7 separate regions of the Homo sapiens genome follow, and all the other regions are linked to region 4. The links are contacts of gene promoters, found by promoter capture Hi-C in blood cells and fetal thymus (Javierre and others, 2016). All regions are on one chromosome and are shown on one strand. Each heading gives the region's core, a stretch centred on a gene start or on the middle of the fragment in contact. The rest is flanking DNA. Distances are from core to core; before and after follow the strand shown.

Region 1 (3,160 bases), core at 659-3,158, 680 kb after region 4:
TTTACAAATGTCCTAAACATCCCTTTCTCTGTGGCAGTGATTCCTGGTGGACATGATTCGTGTTACTGTGTTGTCTATCATAAAGTTATTACCAACTGTAGAAATTTGGAGTATGAACATACTTATTGTCAGGCAACTAAAAATAGAAGGTTATGTTTGGTGAGATAAATTTGTTTTTAGCTTATGTATTGCACACCCAATTGTCCACTTAGGCTCAAACGCTTTATAGACATCTTTTCCCTTTGGTTAGCCAAGCAAAGTCACCCCGTTGGGAAATCTAAAAGGTAGGGGTCTGCCAACTGCAGCTTTCCTGGAGTCTGGTTATCTTCCAGCCCAGACTAGGGCTTCTACTATGAAATTGAAGAGCACTAGGTGTTACCAGACTCTGGTGCAGATGTGCACTCACTTTAGCACATTTGCAAGGTCCCACTGGTCCCAGAGAATGCCATGCCTCCCCACCAACTAGCACATCCCAATTGTGAATATTGTACTCCTGGGATCAAAAGTTGAAGCTGTCTTAGAACCATTTTAGATTAAGGAGCCATAGCCAGGGAAAAGAGTAAGAGTGTGAGGTCTGTGAAAATCTCTTGCTTCCAAGGCTTGTTGAATTTTAATTATTTTTGACATGCAGAGAGTCAAAGATGGAGAGGACACGTAAGTAAGGCTAGCATTTCAGCAACAATTCTTCAATCATACATGGGGATGGAGACCAAAAAAGTCACAACCTCCCATCCTGGCCAACATGGTGAAACATTGTCTCTACTAAAATACAAAAAAATTAGCTGGACATGGTGGTGCGCACCTGTAATCGCAGCTACTTGGGAGGCTGAGGCGGGGGATTTGCTTGAACCCAGGAGGCAGAGGTTGCAGTGAGCCAAGATCGTGCCACTGCACTCCAGCCTGGTGACAGAGCAAGACTCGGTCTCAAAAAAAAAAAAAAGTCACAACCTCATGGTTTCTGGCAATTATTTTTTTTTTTTCTTTTGAGACCAGAGTCACTGTATCAACCAGGCTAGAGTGCAGTGGCACGATCTCAGTTCACTGCAACCTTAGACTCCTGGGCTCAAGCAATTCTTCCTCAGCCTCTCGAGTAGCTGGGATTACAGGCACCTGCCACCATGCCCCACTAATTTTTGTATTTTTAGCAGAAACAGGGTTTCGCCATATTGGCCAGGCTGATCTCGAACTCCTGACCTGAGGTGATCCACCCGCCTCGGCCTCCCAAAGTGCTGGAATTACAGGCATGAGCCACTACACCTGGCCTGCAATTAGTTTCTCTTGAATATTCCCTTTAGACCAGGCACGGTGGCTCATGCCTATAATCCCAGCACTGGGAGGCCGAGGCGGACGGATCATTTGAGGTCAGGAGTTCGAGACCAGCCTTGCCAACATGGCAAAACCCCATCTCTACTAAAAACACAAAAATTAGCCGGGTGTGGTGGTGGGGTGCCTATATAATCCCAGCTACTTGGGAGGCTGAGGCAGAAGAATCACTTGAACCTGGGGGGCAGAGGTTGCAGTGAGCCGAGGTTGCGCCACTTCACTCTAGCCTGGGCGGAAGAGCGAAACTCCGTCTCAAAAAAAAAAAAATTATCTTTAACTCCTGCAGTAGGAATTCTGGTAAACCAGTTTTTGCTTTAAACTCTTAGTTTACCTTGTAGGAATTGAATACTGTGCAAAGTAAATAGGTAAGACACTAGAGCTAAAAAAAGATCAGAGGCTATTGTAGAGTTAACTCCTAGCCACCACCACCACATTCCCTGACAATCACATGGAAATAACAATGAAATTGGCCAATCCCACCACCATTACAAAAATATGCACACGTTCCCTAATCTACATTCCCCCCTTTTTTTTTTAATCTAAAGTCTGATTTCCCCTGTATAAAAATGGTGGGAGGTAGAAGCACACACAGGAGGCATTTAAGATGTGATTTGGTCTAGACTGGTAATCTCAAAGACAGCTTTCGATGTCCCATAGCCCTGGCAATAATCCTTATCATGGGTTTTTCCAGACCCCTGACCATTTTTAGGGGTAGATATTGCTTTTTTTTTTTTTTTTTTTTTTTTTTTTTTTTTTTTTTTGAGATGGAGTCTTGCTCTGTCGCCCAGGCTGGAGTGCAGTGGCGCGATCTCTGCTCCCCGCAAGCTCCACCTCCCAGGTTCACGCCATTCTCCTGCCTCAGCCTCCCGAGTAGCTGGGATTACAGGCGCCCGCCACCATGCCTGGCTAATTTTTTGTATTTTTAGTAGAGATGGGGTTTCATCGTGTTAGCCAGGATGGTCTCGATCTCCTGACCTTGTGATCCGCCCGCCTCGGCCTCCCAAAGTGCTAGGATTACAGGTGTGAGCCACCCCGCCCGGCCAGATACTACTTTTACCAATAAAGTGTTATTCTTTCTTGTGCCAATATTAGCAGCTCCAGCAGTCCTTTCTTTGGGAATGATAGAGGTCAGTCCATAACATTCTGTCTGTTTATGCTACTTAATATTAGAAAACTGAGAATGACTTATGGTTTGAAGCTCTTGGTTTGCAAAGAACATGGATATATTGGGTACGTGTTTGTGATCTAGAGTACAAGGTGTGTTTGCCATGGTGCCACAGGTAATTAAAAATTATTAGGTTGGCATCAGAGCTGGCAACAAAATAGGGATGTGAGCCTTTCCCAAGCTAGGAAAATGTTTTCCTGACCCCACTAGGTAGGGCCTTATGGCCTGTGAATAGTGTGGCAACACAGGCCTCTGAGTAGAACCCACAGTTCCAGATTAGCTTGGGCAGAGTAAAGTCAGCATATCTGCAGCTACCTCAGGAAACAGCTGAGTTGGATTCTCTACCTGTTACCAACAACAGAAAACATGCAAACTTAAGACTTCAGCAGAGGCAAGACCCCCTAATCCCAGACCACTGCCTGCCCAACAGATAATATGTTATCTATAGTCTCCAAAGGCTAAGGGCATGAGTTCCGTCTTCTAGGGCCCAGTGAAGTGCTAGCACAAAGGCATTATATACATGCTGGTGGGATTCAAAGCTGGCCCCTGGTTGCTTGGGATTCTAGAAGACCTTTAACAGCTGGTGCTAAAAGAACCTGAGTCTCTTGCACACACATTCAGCCCATGACCTTCACCGGCTTGAAAAACAGATACAGCTGCCCTTGAATCCAC
Region 2 (3,034 bases), core at 403-2,902, 630 kb after region 4:
TAGCTGGGACTATAGGCGCCCGCCACTACGCCCGGCTAATTTTTGTATTTTTAGTAGAGATGAGGTTTCACCATGTTAGCCAGGATGGTCTCAATCTCCTGACCTCGTGATCCGCCCACCGTGGCCTCCCAAAGTGCTGGGATTACAGGCGTGAGCCACCGCTCCCAGCCGAACATATTTCTTAAATGTCAAAGGCCAGCTTGCACATGTGTATATGTACATAGACATCATTAACTGTTGGACTCAATTTTATTTTGTTTCTATAACCTCTCTATGCTTTTTAAATTTTTCATCAATTTTTAAAATTACAAAACAAATAATGCTGTTAATATAAGTGAAGCAATACAGAGATGTGTAAAGGGAAAGGTAATCATCATGCCCTGCTCCACCCCCCATCCCCAGGTAACCAGCATTCACAGGCTAGGGTGTGTTCTGTCACATTGGCCTCCTGGCTACACAAACAATACACGCATAAATACTCATATGAGGAATTGGGTGGTGAGTTTTAGTGAAATACACATTCTCTTGCGTTTTTTTTTTCTTTTCCATTTTATTCTTTGTTTTTGAGGTGTCTCACTCTGTTACCCAGGCTGGAGGGCAGTGGCATGATCATGGCTTACTGCAACCTTCTCCTACCAGGCTCAAGCAATCCTTCCACTTCAGCCTCCTAAGTAGCTGGGACCACAGGCACGCACCACCACACTCAGCTAATTGTTTATATTTTTGGTAGAGATGGGGTCTCACTATGTTGCCCAAGCTGGTCTCGAACTCCAAGGCTCAAGCAGTCCTCTCACCTCTACCCCCAAAGTGCTAGGGTAACAAGCATGAGCAACTGCTCCCAGCCTGCATTTTTTTCATAATAATGTATCATGAACATCAGATTAGTAAATACTAGTATAAAACATCCTGTTTTGTTTTTCTAATTTCTTGACAAACATAATTTTATATAAGTAATATTATGTCATCCTGGCAGTTTTTTATTGTCCTAACCTTCTCTCTCCCTACCCTACCACTGGACCATTTCCCACACACACACATGCTAGTTAACCCGTGTTTCTCTCCTGGTTTCTGTCCTTCCTTCCTCACTTTCCTTCTTGTGCTTATTCATATACTAACACAGATATGGTACGGCAACATGAACAAAATAGCACACATACACACACTCAAATTGAGTTTATAAATAGTTTTGAATATAAAATGTCTACAACTTGGTTTTGGTTTCTTGTAGGAGCATATCATGTCTGACATGTGATGGGAGAATCCATTCACATTTAATATTACAACTGATATACCGAACTTTTTTCCACCAGCCTGTATTTGTTTGTGTATTTCACCACACTGTACTTGTAACTGATGACTAATTGGTTAGTCTTCTGCTGTTTTCTCAGATATTTATCTGAGAAATTTCTCTAAATACATGCTATATTCATTGAGACTCTTCATCATGGAATCCCACTGATCTGATACCAGGGAATATGCTGGTCCAATAAGCTAATTTTTCAGATAACTAAAACTCATGCCTTTAAATATTAGTTATTAGGTGGCATGATATGGTTAGAAAAATGGGCTTTGGAATCATAAAAACCTGTCTTCAAGCCAGTGTGACCTTGGACAAGTTATTTATTTGTACTTTTGTTTTCTCATTTGTAAGACAGAAATACCTTCCAGGACTGGTGGAAGGAATTACATGTCTAGAACTTTGTATATGGAAACTGCAAATTTGCCAGCTGTATATCTGATATCCAAAATATTAAGGAAATCCTGTAATTCAGAAAAAAAAAGGGTTAAAGAGTTGAATAGAAATTTATCCAGAGAAGACATACAAATGGCAAACAGGCCAGAGAAAGGATGCTTGATATCACTAATCATTAGAGGAATGCAAATCACAACCGTAATGAGATATCACCTCACACCTGTTAAAATGGCTGTTATCAAAAAAATCAAAAGCTATTAAGTATTGATAAGGATGTGGAAAAAAGGGAACCCTTGTAACACTGTTGTTGGGAATGTAAAATGGTGTAGCTGCTATAGAAAACAGTACAGAAGTTCCTAAAAAAAATAAAAATAGAACTATCATTTGATCCAGCAATTCCAAATACTTCTAGATATTTATGCAGAAGAATTGAAATCAGTATCTCGAAGAGAGATTTACATCTCCATATTCATTGCAGCATTATTCACAATAGCCAAGATGTGGAAACAACCTAAATGTCAATTGGTGGATGAGTGGATAAAGAAAATGTGGTATGGCTCATTCCTGTGATCCCAACACTTTTTGAGGCCAAGGCATGAGGATGGCTCGAGCCCAGGAGTTTGAGACCAGCCTGAGCAACACAGGGAGACCCCATTTCTACAAAAAATTTAAAAAGTAGCTGGGTATAGTGACAAATACCTGTGAAGCTAGTCTACTCAGGAAACTGAGTTGTGGGAAGATAACTTGAACCTGGGAGGTCAAGGCTATAGTGAGCCATGATTACGCCACTGTATTCCAGCTTAGGCGACAGAGCCAGACCCTCTCTGAAAGAAAAAAAGGTTATATATGTACTGTAATGGAACATTATTTAGCCTTTAAAGATGGAAATCCTGCCATATGTAACAATGTTGATGAACCTTGAGGACATTATGTTGAGTAAAATAAGCCAGTCACAGGACAAATACTGCCTTATTCCACAGTATGACCTCTAAAATAGTCAAACTTGGCTGGGCGCAGTGGCTCATACCTGTAATCCCAGCACTTTGGGAGGCCAAGGCAGGTGGATCACCTGAGGTCAGGAGTGTACACCAGCCTGGCCAACATGGTGAAACTTCATCTCTACTGAAAATACAAAAAACTAGCCGGGCATGGTGGTGCCGGTAGTCTCAGCTACTCAGGAGGCTGAGGCACAAGAAGCACTTGAACCTGGGAGGCAGAGGTTGCAGTGAGCCGAGATAGTGCCACTGCATTCTAGCCTAGGCAACAGGGCAAAATTCTGTCTCAAAAATACAGAAAATAAAATAGTCAAACTTGTAGAAGCAGAGAGTAGAATGGTCATTG
Region 3 (3,377 bases), core at 524-3,023, 610 kb after region 4:
TTTGAGTTTTTTTACAGGTATATAGCAATTACTGTCTCATAATTTACATTTTTATATGGAAACATACTTCTGGGTTTCCTTTTGGTTTTTATTTTCTTACCTCTCTACATTCTACTATCCCAATCTGATTAAAAATGAGAAATACTTTTTCATATCTCTTATATTTGTATTTCTTGTCAAACAACACTTGCTTACCCCACAGTGTCAAGAAGCATGTTTTTTTTTAATTACATAAAAGGGTGAAACTAATTATTCAACCAAATAATGAAAACACTAGTAGACTTGGAGCAATTTTTTTTCACTGTGGCACAAGTAATGTTTAAAAGTTTGTATTTGAACTTAAAGAAATTTTGCCCTAAATTAACAAGCCCAACTGAGCAAAGTATTTTTAGACCAGATAGGGTATGGGCAGTAGAAATACAGGATCTTTCATTATTTTTCCTTTGGTGGATAGGGAGGAGGATGGGGAAATATCTCAAGGATAAAATGCTCTAGGTCTTTTATCCATGTGTCCCAGTGGACCACAACTGAAATCAGGACTAACATTACTGCTGGGGAAATGAATGTACTAGTCTTTTGTTATGAATGTGAAACTACTGAACTGTTCATTCAAAACAAGGTTGAGTAAACCCCTGTCAACAGAAACAGAAGAAACCCTGGCTACACACATAAGACTTTCTGAACAATGCACTGTATAATGGGAAAGAACAACAAAATAAAAGTCAGAATCCTGATGGCCCTTAGTCATTTGTAACTGGTGTTAGGCATATCACTTAAAGCCACTGAGTTTCAGTTGGACTCATTTGCAAAGTATGGAATTTTTACTGTGTTGTCTGTTGAAGCCTCTGTGTACTGTAAAACTCCATAATTCTTTGTGTCTCATGTGAGTCATTTCTAGTTCTAAAAGGTAGAATAATAGAGAATTGGTTTGTAACAGCTTGGCAACCAACTGTCAATAACTGGAGTCAATGAAAGCAACTATTTCAAAAGATCAGATTACTTACCAGTTTCACTAATAAAGATTTATTACTTTAAACCTTTATCATAAAATGTATGCTTTGAATACTGTGAAGTACACTGCATATAAGGAGTGTGGTATAGTATAAAGAAACTTTCTGCAGGTAGTAATTATAGTGAAGATTTTAGGTTTACAAAGCCCTAGCTGTTTTCTGTGTAGCTTTTATTATTCTTATGACTCTTGACAAGTTTGTAGCTTCACCATATACATTTAATATTTTGCAATAATTGGCCTTGTTCCTGAGCTGTTGGATTCGGGGCCGTAGCACTGTCTGAGAGGTTTACATTTCTCACAGTGAACCGGTCTCTTTTTCAGCTGCTTCCTGGCTTCTTTTTACTCAGGTTTCCACTGCTTTTTTGCTTTTTTTAATGCTGTATGAAGGTGTTAACATTTGTTTATATTTTTCATTAATTGTAATACCTTTAAATCATGCATCATACTCAGAAATAGGGATTAGAATTTAAGTGACATCTTTGGCCTAATATAATTTACCTGTTAAAAATTTGTGAAAGCTATTGCTTATTTCTTTTCCAAAGTAGATTTGGATGACAAATTCAGTTTGGTTTTGAGCTTATCTAAAAAGCTTAATGTTTTAAGCATACCAAACTCATTAGCAGAAGTCAAATATGTCTCTCCCTATTGCTACACAACTTTTTAGGGATATTGTTATATATGAAAGCATGACATCAAACGGACCTAATACACCTAAATGCATTTGAAGCTACTTGGTCTCGGTTCTTACCAACGATATAATTTAATTTTTTTTTCCAAACGATGATGTTGTTGCATACCTGTGGAAAGCAAAATGATTCTGTGAAACTATACTTTTAGTTTTGCAACCATTTGATAACTTCAAAGATTATCAATGTATTATATCTTTAGTCTTAGCTTTCCAGATAACCCAGAATCATATGGTTCCAAGTTGATTAAGCTTTGTTACCAGCAGACTATGGTAGGATCCTGATGAACGACACTATGGAAGAAACTTGTTAGGATAAACAGTCTTCAATGTGTGCATATTGTTGACAGAATTTGAAGGCACAAATTTAAGAGTAACTAGGGTGTAAAAGGCGAGCAAAGAAAAGTCAGCACTACTGGGTAAGCAGGTGAGGGGGCTTATTGATAGGAGAGTCGGCTATGTCAAATAGGGACTCAAGGCACAAAGTCAATTTCTTTACTGACAACTTTCAATCCAAGTAATAGGAATTTTGTATTTGTAAATTACTAGGTAGTGGCTCTGGCTATTCTTGTTTTTTCATTGATTTCTGTGAGCATTTCTTAGTATGTATTGTGTGATTCAGCATAGATTCAGACATTGTATAATACCTACAAATCCACCTATTTCCCTTTTCCCTTCTCCATTAACCTGCCGCCACTGAAATCTGGAGCCAAATATATCTGGTAAGTACCCACAGATTTCCTTGAGTTGTATAGACTCTTCCATGGAATAGTTCTTTAAATAGCTGTGAGCAATAAACTCTGTGTGACTGTTTTTGTTAGAATTGGTTTTTGTATATGTATATGTTTATTTCAGGCACAGGAGTGAGAGAAGAGGGGATGAGAGATGAGAAGGGATAATCAAGTGTGATGGCAATTGCATCTCCTTCCAAATACACCCATGGGGCTGGCTTTAGTTGAACTTGCCCACCTACTAAAATAGTGCCACAGACAGAAGCCCAAGATTATAAGCTTGAGGTTTTAACAATTTGGTCTTGTAGATGCCTAGTTACAAATAAATTTGGCTTTAGTAAAATGGCTCATCTTTAAAAAAAAAAAAAAAGAAAACTACCTTCACAGTGCTTCTATTGTACAAGCACAGTCTGGAAAAAAAATTAATAGGTACTATTAAGTGAAATAACCTTAGATTCATGGGTATTCTAAGCATTTCTTTAATACTTTTTGTAATTTTTCTGATTATTTCTGTGTTATTAAGAATGCTTTCCTTTAGAACAAATGCTAGTTCAGATCACCTATATAAAATAAAATCAGCCTGTTAATGCCTGTTCAATACTTTTGTGCTGAGCACTGCATTTCCTTCCTGCTCTCTTCTTGGTTAAAGTGAGAGTTAAAAATAGAACATTCTGTGGAGCCCTCCAGGGAAGTTCCTGAACCATCAGTTTATATTGTCCTAGTTCTCTTAGCTTGCAGAATTGATTGTGCTTTCCTCTGAAAGTGCTGAAAGAAATGGGATAATATTGCAACAGTGCAGTCCTTTAACAAAACAGAATGGTAGTGTTTTAAAAAAAAAAATCTATGTTGAGATCTGGATATTTATTTTGTTGTTTGGTATCACTTACTATTGGCATTTCTTACTTTACAAAATAGAGGCTTTCCCACAATATTGACGTAAATTCCTATA
Region 4 (3,312 bases), core at 682-3,181:
AGATTGGATTAGGGCCCACTCTAGCGGCCTAATTTTAACTTAATCACCTCTTTAAACACCCTGTCCATAAATACAGTCACATTTTGAGGTACTAGGAGTTAGGGCTTCAACATATGAATTTTGAGTGAGAATCCAATCGATTACCACCAAACTGGTTGCAAATACAAATAAGCTCCTAACAGGGGGCAGAGAAAGTCTTCACAGAAGAGCAAATATCCAAGCTGAAACTTGAAGGACAAATTTTACCAGGTAAACTATAGACACAAGGACATTGCAGATTCTAAACGACAGCATGTCCAGAGGAAAGAGAAAGCACAGGATGTCGAAAACATTGTAGGTGCATGTTAAAAGAGGCTGTCTATTAAAAGAGAGTGGCAGACACAAAAGATGTGCTGCTCAGACCTCCCTTAAAGAAAGACTCACTGCCCAGCTGTAAGGCGTGTGGTTAGATGAACAGCCTACGGCTGTTGGGTTTATCAGGTTTGTCTAACTGTTGAGCCAAGGACCTGCTATTCTTGGAGTGCTTCCTCCAGCCAAAAACTGAGCAAACAGTGATAGCCAAGGCCACTGTTTTCTTGGGGAGATCCTGGCCAATGATTGACGGAGCAAGGCAGTAGTACAAGGGGCTACGCATTTCCTGATGCATAATTTTTGCCCTAGCACTTCCAGTTGGACTTCAGAGACTTCGCCAGCTTGGAATTGTAGTGTCTGCTTTTTTAGAGCACCAGTCTGAAAAAAAAATAGTGAAAAAGCAAGCTGCAGAGTGGGAGAAGGTATTTGCTACATATATAAACAATATAAAGCTCAGATGCAGAATATATATAAATAACTTGAAGGTGTTAAAATAAAGACAAGGCCAGGCACAGTGGCTCACACCTGTAATCCCAGCACTTTGGGAGGCCGAGGGGGGCGGATCACAAGGTCAGGAGATCGGGACCATCCTGGCCAACATGGTGAAACCCCATCTCTACCAAAAATACAAAAATTAGCTGGGTGTTGTGGCGCATGCCTGTAATCCCAGCTACTCGGGAGGCTGAGGCATGAGAATCACTTGAACCCAGGAGGCAGAGATTGCAGTGAGCCGAAATCGCGCCACTGCACTCCAGCCTGGCGACAGAACCGAGGTGGGCAGATCATGAGGTCAGGAGATCGAGACCATCCTGGCTAACACGATGAAACCTCATCTCTACTAAAAATACAAAAAATTAGCCGGGCGTGGTGGCGAGCGCCTGTGGTCCCGGCTACTCGGGAGGCTGAGGCAGGAGAATGGCGTGAACCCGGGAGGCGGAGCTTGCAGTGAGCCAAGATCGTGCCACTGCACTCCAGCCTGGGCGACAGAGCAAGACTCCGTCTCAAAAAAAAAAAAAAAAAAAAAAAAAAAAAAAAAAAAATGAAGCGTTTGTTGAACACCATGTTGCTCTTCCCAGAAACCAGGTAACTAGTATGATTTTATTTCAGGACAATCAACTGAGCAACTTCTTGCAGGGTCAGGGGCAGAGGGTAGAAGTGGTATTACAGCACCTAGTTTATTGCCTTACAATCAATAAATAGAGGGTGAATGAAAAGAAACCCAATAGTTAAAGTGTAAGCTAATTGGTACTAACTACAAATATGGGTTGAATGAAAACAAACCCAACATGCTTTAGGTTTTTTAATACAATCTTATCCACATGAGTTTAGGGTCTTGTCCTATCACCTTGGCTTCTGTTCCCTTTCTGTATTCATCACAGGAAATTTTCAAGTTTTATGAAACCAGCTAGAGCGGAGTTTTATTAACCAGCTGAGGGCGGACTAAAGACTTAACAGACCTGGGCGAAGAAGCAGCACTCCTACTTACTAGGGCAAGACTCATGAACAGGGGGCGGGGGCTCCGGGGGCGGGGACGCGCCCCGTTCTCTTTCGCTCTTCTTCCCGGCAGCCTTAGCGCCAGGCCCGGCGCTCCTCAAGATGGCTGCCGACAGTGAGGTGATTTCTTTGCTCCCTACTTAATCCTTGTCACTATCTAAATTCGTTCCTCATGTCTTCGCCTTGGGGCTTAATTTCTTTTTCTCTCCTTCCCCTTCCCGCAGCCCGAATCCGAGGTATTTGAGATCACGGACTTCACCACTGCCTCGGAATGGGAAAGGTGAGTGAATCGCATTTTTGGTTACCAGCTCCCATGGGCCCTGGCGTCCCCTAGCCGCTTCCCTGACCCCAGACACACCACAAGTGACGCCACTTGTGCGGGAACGGTAATACCGTGGGTCCCGGGTCTCCTCCCCCAGTCTTCTTTGGTCAACCGCAAGCCTCTTCCGCGTCTCGCGTCTGGCAACACCCGGCCCGCCCCCGTCAGCCAATCCCTGAGGCTCAGGCTCTCAGAAAGTTTTGTTTTCTCTCCTGTCAGACCGCTTCCCTTAGACTTTGGTTTTCTGGTTGTTACCCACTCGCAAGAAAAATTTCCGAGGCTGCAACAACCGTTCCGGTTTTCATTACCGTTTAACTCATTATCGTAAGCAGTAAACTTGGTAGGTTGTGCCGCACCTCATCCCGTGTACGTTGGTATACCCTTTTCAGGAGGAAGTCTTTCTTCAGAGTATTGGTAGTTGTCCATCTGTCACACTCCCACCATCTCCATGCTGTCTTTAATTTTTTATTTTTATTTATTTTTGGAGACAGAGTCTCAGTCTGTCCGCCCAGGCCGGAGTGCAGTGGCGAGGTCATAGCTTACTGCGGCCTCGAACTCCTAGGCTCAAGTGAAGCTCCCGCTTTAGCCTCGGGAGGAGCTGGGACCACAGGCACGCGCTATTACGCCCAACTAATTTTTTAAAGATCTCGCTGTGTTGCCCAGGCTAGTCTTGAACTCCTGGGCTCAAGCCTGGGCCGCCCAAAGTGCTGAGATTACAGGCGTGAGCCTCCGCCCATCCTGTCTTTTAGAATAACCTTTTTAAAAAGTCTGCATATGGTTTTGGAATGCTTTGATTTAAGTTGTTACATTAAAGTGGGTACTGTGCCCAGGCTTCCTGTGCCTGTCAAATTCAGATGAACAGCTGTCTGGGTGAAACTGTTCTATTACTGAAATTAGTTGAAAGCCAAGTTTGTGGAGGAGTGATAGCTTAGATCGAGAAGGTTTCTGTTAAGTGTCACAGAAACCCTTCAGTTTCCTGGGTGTTGAAGTCAGTGTTTACGCTGTTACAGCATTTTATAATCTTTCTGGTTGGGAGAGGAAATTTGTGGATGTCGTGTCATTAGGTGGCACAGGAAAATATAAAAGGTCCTTGTTGGAATAATAGTTAGACCTGTGGTACCCTTCATAAAAGTGTCAGTAAGACATAA
Region 5 (3,354 bases), core at 602-3,101, 540 kb after region 4:
AACTTTCTAATTAACATGTTTAGTCTTTCCAGCCAGTCCCCATCTGGAATCACCATCTTAACATAAACTATATCATAGTAACCTCATTAGCATACATTATCAGGACCCACCATGAATGACAAAGACATTTCCATCAGTCCAGAAATTCCAAGAATTTAGAAGCTGCCTACTAAGGACAAAGGTCAGCCAAATTTTCCATTACACAATATCTTATTTTCCAATTATTGATAATGTCTTTGGTGTACCCTATGTGGGAAGTAATTTACTTTTATGGTAATTATATGTGAGATAACTCCGAGGTCAAGACTGAGTGAGTGATCTTTCTCCTTCTGACCACTTCCCTTTAGCTGATTTTGTACCTTAAAAGCATCTCTAAACAGATCACTTTTGAAAGAATGAATGATTTTTTGAAAAATGAATTGTAAACAATCCAGTATGGAAACAAACAAAAAAAACTATGTTTTCTCTTACATGCCTGTTATCTTAAGCTCTCCTCTCACATCCTTATTATCCATAGCTCAGTTTCCAGGAATCCAAACCTTTTGAATGTTCTTTGCTGTTTATTTCTCAAAGCATGACTAGATGGTAATACCAGTTTGGGTTTTTTTTTTCCTCCATGTAGTTTTTTATTATTTTTTTTTATTTTTATTTTTTAAGAGGCAGGGTCTTGCTGTGTCATCCAGACTGGAATGCAGTGGCGCTATCGTAGTGTACTGCACCCTCAAACTCCTGAGCCCAAGGGATCCTTTCTTGTGGTAGATGGGACTGCGGGCATGTGCCACCATACTCTACCTCCGTGTAGTCTTTTTTTTTTCTTTTTGAGATGGAGTCTCACTTTTTCGCCCAGGCTGGGGTGCAGTGGTGCCATCTCGGCTCACTGCAACCTGTGCCTCCTGGATTGAAGCGATTCTCCTGCCTCAGCCTTCCAAATAGCTGGGATTACAGGCGCCTGCTACCACACCTGGCTAATTTTTGTATTTTTAGTAGAGTTGAGGTTTCACCATGTTGGCCAGGCTAGTCTCGAACTCCTGACCTCAAGTGATCCACCCACCTCAGCCTCCCAAAGTGCTGGGATTACAGGCACGAGCCACCACTCCTAGCCCTGTGTGTAGTCTTTAAAAGAGATTTTACCTCATGCCAATCAGATCATATTACACCCTGAGTTATTTATTTCAGTCCTGCATTTAGCACATACATGGGGAGCTCTCAGTATAACCCTGGACTATGGTAGGTTCAGAATTAAGGCAAAATACATTTTACCCTCACTAGCACTATATTAGGAGGTCATTAACTTCAGGTTTAGAGTTACATTAATGGCCCTGACTTTCTTGCATTGTCTCTTACCTATATCTGCCAATATCTAAACCCCTTTAGAATCTCACCAGGTTATCCCCAGGATTATCCAGGATCTCCTCATGAGCTCAAGAACAGCCGTTTCATGATCTTCCAGTTTTGTCTTTCTCTGGCCCACTGCCCACTACCATTTTGCTAGTGTTTGCCACGAATTAGCTCATGTCCATGCCAAAGGTTGTATCTCTTAGTGTTCCCAACATGTTTAGTCTTCAGGGTACCATATTCTCTAGAATTTTCTTTTTTATTTTATTATTTTATTTATTTTTTTGAGACGGAGTCTGACTCTATCACCCAGGCTGGAGTACACTGGCACAGTCTCGGCTCACTGCAGTCTCCACCTCCCAGGTTCAAGCGATTCTCATGCGTCAGCCTCCCAAGTAGTGGGATTACAGGCGCGCACCACCACACCCAGCTAATTTTTGTATTTTTAGTAGAGATGAGGTTTTGCCATGTTGGCCAGGCTGGTCTCAATCTTCTGACCTCAGGTGATCCGCCCGCCTCAGCCTCCCAAAGTCCTGGGATTACAGGCATGAGCCACTGCGCCTGGCCTTCTCTAGAATTTTCTATGTACCAGCACCATGCCATCCTCAGAGAAGTTAGGCAAGCCATTCACCCGCTTCTGTGGTGGGCTTGGTCACCTGGGCACCAGGAGCTGCTTGTCTCCCACATCTCCCCTGCTTTGGTTCTCCAGTGAAAACACTTCCTTTAGCTTTTGCTTTCATTTAAACTAGGATCACTGCTACATTAAGATATATGTATAGTTCTTTTAGTACTCTAGCATTCCTAATTTCCAGCTTTTTATGTATTGATTTGGCATTTTAAATTACGTTTCTTAAGCTACTATACCATACAGTGATAAAAAGTCAGATCTGGAAATGGCTGTGAAAAAAACATTTAGCCTATTATATAGCCAAGTAGCATCTGAGCTTTCTCATTTGCATCACTCTCACTCATTACAATGCCCTCAGTCAAAGAATTAGAGATACCCCCAGTCTTGTAGTTTACAGACTTCTCCTTAGAAGGACTGTGCCAAAACAGTCCTGAATGTTCGTGTTGGCCTTAATGAACCACCCCTTAGTGACTCAGTCACCATTCTCCACAAGCCCTACAGCCATCCCGGCTCCCTCTCTTCTAGCAAATAGGTTCGGGGTAAAAAAGAAGAAATTTATTAGGTATGAATTCCCTCCTTTTCCTGCCACATTCCCTTCAGTATCTTAGGATAATGTATACATTTCAGGCTTATTCACCAGTTTGTACTTCTGATTACATTTTCTCATTTCATCCACTTTCAGATTTTCCTTCTTATTACCTTTCTTCCCTCCTAAACCTCTAGCCTCTCCCCATCTTTCCTTACTGGCTTCTGTGGCCTACACACTTTTTCATTCTGACAACCTTCCTCTAACTTCGCATCTCCTGGTAACTTTATTACCAAATCATGTATACTCATTGTGATCTTCCACTTTCCTCCTCAATCCTTAAGGGTTCAGTGTTCCCTAGGGATTCTACACCCCCCCCCCTTTTCAATGAAGGCTTGTGGGCAACTTCATTAACATTGATAACTCAAAACTTCAATCTATATAGTGATTCTCCACCAAATAAATAACATTAGCTGACTTCTTTCCTGAGCTCCAAGTCTATATATCCAATTTTCTGTTAGATTTCTCCACCTGAATGTCCTGAAGATACCTTAAAATTAACTGTAGGCAAAACTGAAATCATCGTTCTGCCATCAAATCCATTTTCCTCCCAGATATATTTCCTATATTTAGTGGTAGCAAGCACTACCTGCACCTTCAGTGTGTCCTCTCATAACTCTTCCAGCTCTCACAGCCCTTACCTTTTCCCTGACCACTCATGTATTGAATTGGCTTCCCCCAGTTAGTTACTTGCTATTATATTAATCTATTCATTTCTACATGGAGTACAGGTAGTGGCTGATACCAAGGGCTCTGGAGCCAACACTACCTGAGTTCATATCTTAACTCTACCCCTTACTAGTCT
Region 6 (3,305 bases), core at 785-3,284, 650 kb after region 4:
TGACTTTGAGAAAGCTTATGAGGCAGAAAGTTGGTGTTTTCTTCCAGAGACTACAAGCCTAGTTGAGCATCTGACCTGCAAATGAATTGGTTATTTATTCATTTATTTATTTATTTAGAGACAGAGTCTTGCTCTGTTGCCCAGGCTGGAGTGCAGTGGTGTGATCTCAGCTCACTGCAACCTCCGCCTCCTAGGCTCAAGCAGTTCTCCTGCCTCAGCCTCCTGAATAACTGGGATTACAGGCACCCACCACCACGCCCAGCTAATTTTTGTATTTTTAGTAGAAATGGGTTTCACCATGCTGACCAGGCTGGTCTCGAACTCTTGACCTCAAGTGATCCGCCTGCCTCAGCCTCCCAGAGTGCTGGGATTACAGGCATGAGCCGCCACACCCGGCTGAACTGAAGGTTTATATTGCAGAATATCAGCATAAACATCTTCAAATGGCCATACTCTGACATCTGCTGAAGTTTTCTGAAGCAGATTCAAATTGTTTCATTGAAATTAACTTTCTACTATAACATTTAAAAGCTAAACTTTTCAGTTTTCAAAAAGCATTTTAAAGTATTGTTTATAATTACAAAATGCATGCATGCTTTTTTTTTTTTTTTGAGACAGAGTCTCTTTCGCCCAGGCCAGACTGCAGTGGTGCCATCTCGGCTCACTGCAACCTCTGCCTCCCGGGTTCAAGTGATTCTTCTGCCTCAGCCTCCCAAGTAGCTGGGATTACAGTCATGCACCACCACACCCAGCTAGTTTTTGTATTTTTAGCAGAGATAGGGTTTCAGGCTAGTCTCAAACTCCTGACCTCAAGTGAGCCGTCCTCCCCGGCCTCCCCAGATGCTAGGATTACAGGCATGAGCCACCACACCCAGCCTCTTACAGAGTTTTAATGTAGCTGAAATCTTACTGTATATATTTCACTTATTGGTCATAGTAAAAATTTTTTCATCCTATTAAAAATTCATTAATATAATTTAATGATCATACTCTTACATTTTATGAATATACAATAATATATTTACCCTATTGCAGAACATTTAGGTCGTATCTTTTTACTTTATTGAACCATCTTGTAAGCAATTTTAATTACTCCCTTGGCATGAGTCCTTAGAAGGGAATTAGTAGGTTAAAGGATGTGACTGTTATTAAGGTCCATGGTACATTTTGCCAAAATCTTTGATTCACAGTCCCAATATGTACTGACTCCGCTTTACTGTTTTCACATTTCATAAATGGCAACATGTATTAATTTGGCTCTGTGATTATTAATGAAGTTGTACATTTTTATGTTTGGCTGTTTACACTTTGAATTATTTGGCCAAATCTTTCATCATAGTTTGGTAAGGCAAGTGCTAATTGCATGTTTAAGTGCTAATGGCATGTTTGTTGATGAAAGAGCTGAAGTTCAAATAACATGTTCAGACTCATATAACGAATAACAAGTAGAGTTGGAACACAGCCCTGTGCTCCCTTCTGACACCCAAATACATGGTGCTTTGCCCTAGGTCAGGTATTAAATGTCAAAGGCATTAAAATAGCAATGTACTGTCACTTGAATTTGCAAGATCTAGTGAATATATCTTAATATCAAGCATTGATATTGCTTGATATTAAGCAGTGGTGGGCGCTTGTAGTTAGCTACTCGGGAGGCTGAGGCAGGAGGATCACTTGAGCCCAAGTGTTCAGTGCTTCAGTAACCTATGATAACACCACTGCATTCCAGCCTGAGGAATAGAGTGAGACCTTGTCTGTTTAAAATAAATAAATAAATAAAATCACACTTTGATAAAGTAAGTTTCTAACTTTAAAAATACATTATATTTGTCATTTTTTTTATCATGGCTTCAATTCCAAAACATGGTAAGAATGAATAACTAATTAACTGGAGAGAAGGGGAATTTCTCTGAATTACCCTATAATGTTAAAGGAATAAGATGAGCACTGTAAAAAAACTCAGAAGAAGGACCGGGCACAGTGGCTCACGCCTGCAATCCCAGCACTTTGGGAGGCCAAGGCTGGCGGATCACGAGGTCAGGAGATCGAGACCATCCTGGCTAACATGGTGAAACCCCGTCTCTACTAAAAATACAAAAAATTAGCCGGGCGTGGTGGCGGGCACCTGTAGTCCCAGCTACTCGAGAGGCTGAGGCAGGAGAATGGTATGAACCCGGGAGGCGGAGCTTGCAGTGAGCCAAGATTGCGCCACTGCACTCCAGCCTGGGTGACAAAGGGAGACTCCATCTCGAAAAAAAAAAAAAAAAACTCAGAAGAAACCTGTGGGATATCCTATAATGTCTTTCATCAATCTCCAGTGATCTTGTAGAAGCATTTCACAGCAGTTTGTCTGGCTCTACCTTACGTAGAGAAGAGGCAGCTCCTAAACAGGAAAAAAATATTGGTAATAATTTTTATTGCAGTGGCCTTAATACAGTTGAAAGTGGATATTTTGATTTTTTTTTTTAGTTTACATATCCATAGTTTTGTTTTTGTTTTTGTTTTTGTTTTTGTTTTTTTTGAACATTCTTGGGTGTTTCTCGCAGAGGGGGATTTGGCAGGGTCATAGGACAGTAGTGGAGGGAAGGTCAGCAGATAAACAAGTGAACAAAGGTCTCTGGTTTTCCTAGGCAGAGGACCCTGCGGCCTTACGCAGTGTTTGTGTCCCTGGGTACTTGAGATTAGGGAGTGGTGATGACTCTTAACGAGCCTGCTGCCTTCAAGCATCTGTTTAGCAAAGCACATCTTGCACCGCCCTTAATCCATTTAACCCTGAGTGGACACAGCACATGTTTCAGAGAGCACAGGGTTGGGGGTAAGGTCATAGATCAACAGGATCCCAAGGCAGAAGAATTTTTCTTAGTATAGAACAAAATGAAAAGTCTCCCATGTCTACCTCTTTCTACACAGACACAGCAACCATCCGATTTCTCAATCTATTCCCCACCTTTCCCCCTTTTCTATTCCACAAAACCGCCATTGTCATCATGGCCCGTTCTCAATGAGCTGTTGGGTACACCTCCCAGACGGGGTGGTGGCCGGGCAGAGGGGCTCCTCACTTCCCAGTAGGGGCGGCCGGGCAGAGGCGCCCCTCACCTCCCGGACGGGGCGGCTGGCCGGGCGGGGGGCTGACCCCCCCACCTCCCTCCTGGACGGGGCGGCTGGCTGGGCGGGGGGCTGGCCCATTCATAGTTTTATGTCAGGACTTTTCAGGAAGTTTGGGGATAAATGGGATTATTTGAGATTGATGTTTCATTTTTCTGTTAAAGGGTAGGATATCAACTTTGAATGACTAGGCCTGGTGCTTT
Region 7 (3,147 bases), core at 246-2,745, 560 kb after region 4:
CCTAACCTTTAATAATCGATTACATTTATGACACACTTTAGAGTTTTCAAAGCCCCTTTGTTAGCTACGCTTTCACTGAATCCTTTCAAGAATCCTGTGAATTAGTGCAAGTAGTATGAACTTTTAGACAGATAAAAGTAAACTGAAGTAATTTGACCATGGTTACCCACTAATAAGAAGCAAATTCAAAAATTTAAGTCCAGCTTTTCTGCATATGAATACAGGATTTACATTGACAGTTAATGACCCCTTTCCTTTTAGAATTTTTAATAGAAGATTTTATACCAGTGATACTTAAAATTACAAGAGATTAAAGCAGAGGACTGGGAGTAAGTCACAAATTATTTTCCCTTCTGCTTCTTCAGAACTCATTTAGGTATGTGCATTTTCATAGTATTCACCTGTTGCTTTTCTCTCTCTTTTTTTTTTCCTGTAATCCCTAGATGGTGGCATCTACCACCTAGACTAGATGGTAGTACAATTTATTTTACTTTTATTGTTAGATGTGAGTTACAGTTAATTAGAAATCCTCTTGAACAAGTTAGAGAGTAGGTAAAAACAGAAGACAATACCAACATGCAGAAGACCTCTTAGGTGGCACTGCCATATTCATGTGTGCGCACACATGCTATTTTCTTCTGTATAAGAAACAAAGTCATTTTTCTTTTATTTTTTCTATTTTCCTTTTGTTGTTCTGTAGTTTGTATAATCTAGGGTTAAAATCCCAAGAATACAGTGCTTTTTAATTTTGAAGAACTTTTGGCTCAAAATGGGAGCAGGACATACTGGTACTGTAGACTCTTGTTTCTGTTGACTCTACAAGGAAGGCCTTTTTGAAATAAAATGATGGGTTTTTTTTTTTAATGTAAAGCATACTAGTCTGGATATTAAGGATTTTGTATCTGTTTTATGTTTGTTACCAGACTGGCTCCCTCATGTTAAGAAGTAAAAATGATAGATACTTTTGCCGTGTACTATTTGGTGTTGGGTTTGGGGAGGAAAATTGGAAGAAAGGAGTGTTTAAAACCTATCTGGCTCTGGTTCACAGGTGCTTCAGCTGGTTTCCCAAACCAAAGCTTGTATCACAAACTTGAGTTAGTTTGCCTTACCGCATTCTCCAATCATGTGACTGATGGTCGGCCTGTCAGTCATGCTGGACATCCGTATTGGAAGTCTGCCCTTTTTTCTTCCTTTCTGCTTCATTGCCTCACCTCAGACCTGATGAATAGGTTTCTATCACTAATAAACTGGTGGTGTACTTTATACAGTGTTGAAACACCTCAGTAGATTTGTGGTTGGACTCTGACTTACTGTGCATTTGAAACATTAAGTTTGGAACTTTTCTGAGTTTATCCACCTTTAACTGCTGGTTTTTGTGTGTGTTCTTTTTCCTTAACCTTGGCTAAACTATAATATGTTGTAAAATAATGAAGTATATTTTATTTCACTACCAAGAAGTCACCATATAAGTTCCATTGTACTCAATTAACACAGAAATTGTGGCCATTTGCTGATTTAAAGAAAAATGCCTAAGAAAGAAAAATAATAAAAATGCCAACCTATCAGGATTTTAAAGAAACTTCTGCAAGTGTGCTTCTGGGAGGAATCAGTACTCCTTTACTGAAACCAACTTTGATTTCCTCACTTTTCATACTTTATGCACAGTTAGTTTTTCTGTGGTTTAGGACTATGAATTAAGAAGCAAATTTTCTGTTTCAGTATGAAATTTAATACAAATCTTTCTTGTATATTCAGCGGCCATTGCAGTCATTTGGACAGACAGGAAAAAGGTCTAAGGTATAGTAAATATTTTGGTGTGCTGGCATGCCAAGGGCCTTCCTTCATGCTTGATGAATCCTTGTTTTCATATAGCACTACATTCAGTTTAGTTCTTCCATATTTTATGGGGGGCAGAAAGCTTATTTTGTTTTATTTGGGATTTTTGTCTTGCCTAGTCGCTTTTGTGCATTGCTTTTTTTATCTTGATGGTTCTTTATCTGTAGAGAAAATCGCTTTCTCACCATTTTTGGGGATATGAAGTTGGAATTATTCCCATTCTTTCTATTGCTATAATTTTCAAAACTGCAAATGTTTGTGTTCCTTCTTAACAAAGGCCTTCAGTAGTGTTTAATGATATATTTAACTTGCACATTTCATCTACTGTTATACATGGCAGAAACTATAAAGAAACTTAGAAACTCTTTCTAGGGGGCTTTTGGATATGCCCTAGATTTCTGAAATGTAGTGTTAATTATAAATACTTCTCTTTAGTCAAGCTCAAAGTTAAAGCTAGTTCGGAGCCTTGCAGTGTGTGAAGAATCTCCACCACCCCCTGCACCAGAGATATCACAGGAGAACCAGGTAAAAAAGCAAAACAAATGTTATTTCAAGACATGGTGGAACTGGAGAATTTTTGTATATGATTTAAGTTGTGTTTGTTATATTTGTTTTATTTTGACTAAATGAAACTTATTCAATAATACTTGGCACCCAAGAGATATATGAAAAGTTAGAAAACCTCTTTGCTTCAATCTAAGGCTTAGAGCAATTATTACTCTTCTGGAAGAACTTAGGAATCATGTAATTAATTAGGAATGTGGCTTTAAGAAAGTTATAAATTAATTTTTATAAAGTTAAAAAATGTTGGTCGGGTGCAGTGGCTCACGCCTGTAATCCCAGCACTTTGGGAAGCCGAGGTGGGCACATCACGAGGTCAGGAGATCGAGACCATCCTGGCTAACACGGTGAAACCCCATCTCTACTAAAAAAAATACAAAAAAATTAGCCGGGCATGGTGGTGGGCGCCTGTAGTCCCAGCTACTCGGGAGGCTGAGGCAGGAAAATGGTGTGAACCCAGGAGGCGGAGCTTGCAGTGAGCCCAGATCGCACCACTGCACTCCAACCTGGGCGACAGAGCGAGACTCCATCTCAAAAAAAAATATATATATATATTAAGGTAGCATTTCCAGTGAATATAATTGTGGTGAAATTTGCCCTTTTAGTTTTACCTTTTAGAAATTTCTCAGATACTTAATGCTTGTTTGTAAAGAGACCAGCCAAGACTTCTTCTTGATAGGTTATTTAACGTAACCTGAATGCATGGTGAAACCAATTTTCATATTAGCTTGGCTCTTTAATAGTTATCTA

What was found. Contacts are between HindIII fragments. The CHiCAGO score rates a contact against its expected background, and 5 or more counts as called.
Region 1: a contact is called between a fragment that was not itself captured here and the fragment with the promoter of RAB3GAP1 in region 4, in 9 of 17 cell types (total CD8 T cells, naive CD8 T cells, naive CD4 T cells and 6 more). The highest score is 10.4, in total CD8 T cells.
Region 2: a contact is called between a fragment that was not itself captured here and the fragment with the promoter of RAB3GAP1 in region 4, in 5 of 17 cell types (M2 macrophages, total CD4 T cells, naive CD8 T cells and 2 more). The highest score is 6.3, in M2 macrophages.
Region 3: a fragment that was not itself captured here is called in contact with the fragment with the promoter of RAB3GAP1 in region 4 in 11 of 17 cell types (naive CD8 T cells, total CD4 T cells, erythroblasts and 8 more); the score reaches 9.0 in naive CD8 T cells.
Region 5: a contact is called between a fragment that was not itself captured here and the fragment with the promoter of RAB3GAP1 in region 4, in 9 of 17 cell types (fetal thymus, naive CD4 T cells, activated CD4 T cells and 6 more). The highest score is 11.3, in fetal thymus.
Region 6: a contact is called between a fragment that was not itself captured here and the fragment with the promoter of RAB3GAP1 in region 4, in 15 of 17 cell types (total CD4 T cells, naive CD8 T cells, activated CD4 T cells and 12 more). The highest score is 11.7, in total CD4 T cells.
Region 7: a fragment that was not itself captured here is called in contact with the fragment with the promoter of RAB3GAP1 in region 4 in 4 of 17 cell types (megakaryocytes, endothelial precursors, erythroblasts and 1 more); the score reaches 6.1 in megakaryocytes.

What each region holds. Positions count from the first base shown.
Region 1 is chr2:135,725,398-135,728,557 of GRCh38, forward strand. No RefSeq gene overlaps it. Among named protein-coding and RNA genes, the nearest start is that of UBXN4, 15 kb to the right of the region's middle. The HindIII fragment of the contact is 6,612 bases long and covers 1-3,160 here.
Region 2 is chr2:135,684,219-135,687,252 of GRCh38, forward strand. The region is part of intron 21 of R3HDM1 (R3H domain containing 1); the gene reads left to right. Among named protein-coding and RNA genes, the nearest start is that of MIR128-1, 20 kb to the left of the region's middle. The HindIII fragment of the contact is 3,400 bases long and covers 1-3,034 here.
Region 3 is chr2:135,664,139-135,667,515 of GRCh38, forward strand. All of the region lies in intron 19 of R3HDM1 (R3H domain containing 1), which reads left to right. It overlaps MIR128-1 (microRNA 128-1), which reads left to right and starts at 1,259; the gene lies at 1,259-1,340. LOC124907893 (a long non-coding RNA gene) reads left to right here. Exons shown (of 2, transcript XR_007087245.1): 1 at 1-2,419. RefSeq lists an enhancer at 577-676. The HindIII fragment of the contact is 348 bases long and covers 1,600-1,947 here.
Region 4 is chr2:135,050,361-135,053,672 of GRCh38, forward strand. RAB3GAP1 (RAB3 GTPase activating protein catalytic subunit 1) reads left to right here and starts at 1,932. Exons shown (of 24, transcript NM_012233.3): 1 at 1,932-1,965; 2 at 2,070-2,125. The coding sequence starts at 1,948. RefSeq lists an enhancer at 2,505-2,644. The HindIII fragment of the contact is 10,130 bases long and covers 1-3,312 here.
Region 5 is chr2:135,592,118-135,595,471 of GRCh38, forward strand. The region is part of intron 1 of R3HDM1 (R3H domain containing 1); the gene reads left to right. Among named protein-coding and RNA genes, the nearest start is that of R3HDM1, 62 kb to the left of the region's middle. The HindIII fragment of the contact is 3,984 bases long and covers 1-3,354 here.
Region 6 is chr2:135,703,882-135,707,186 of GRCh38, forward strand. The region is part of intron 21 of R3HDM1 (R3H domain containing 1); the gene reads left to right. Among named protein-coding and RNA genes, the nearest start is that of UBXN4, 36 kb to the right of the region's middle. The HindIII fragment of the contact is 4,045 bases long and covers 13-3,305 here.
Region 7 is chr2:135,614,397-135,617,543 of GRCh38, forward strand. R3HDM1 (R3H domain containing 1) reads left to right here. Exons shown (of 27, transcript NM_001378107.1): 4 at 1,756-1,797; 5 at 2,272-2,361. Among named protein-coding and RNA genes, the nearest start is that of MIR128-1, 49 kb to the right of the region's middle. The HindIII fragment of the contact is 842 bases long and covers 1,075-1,916 here.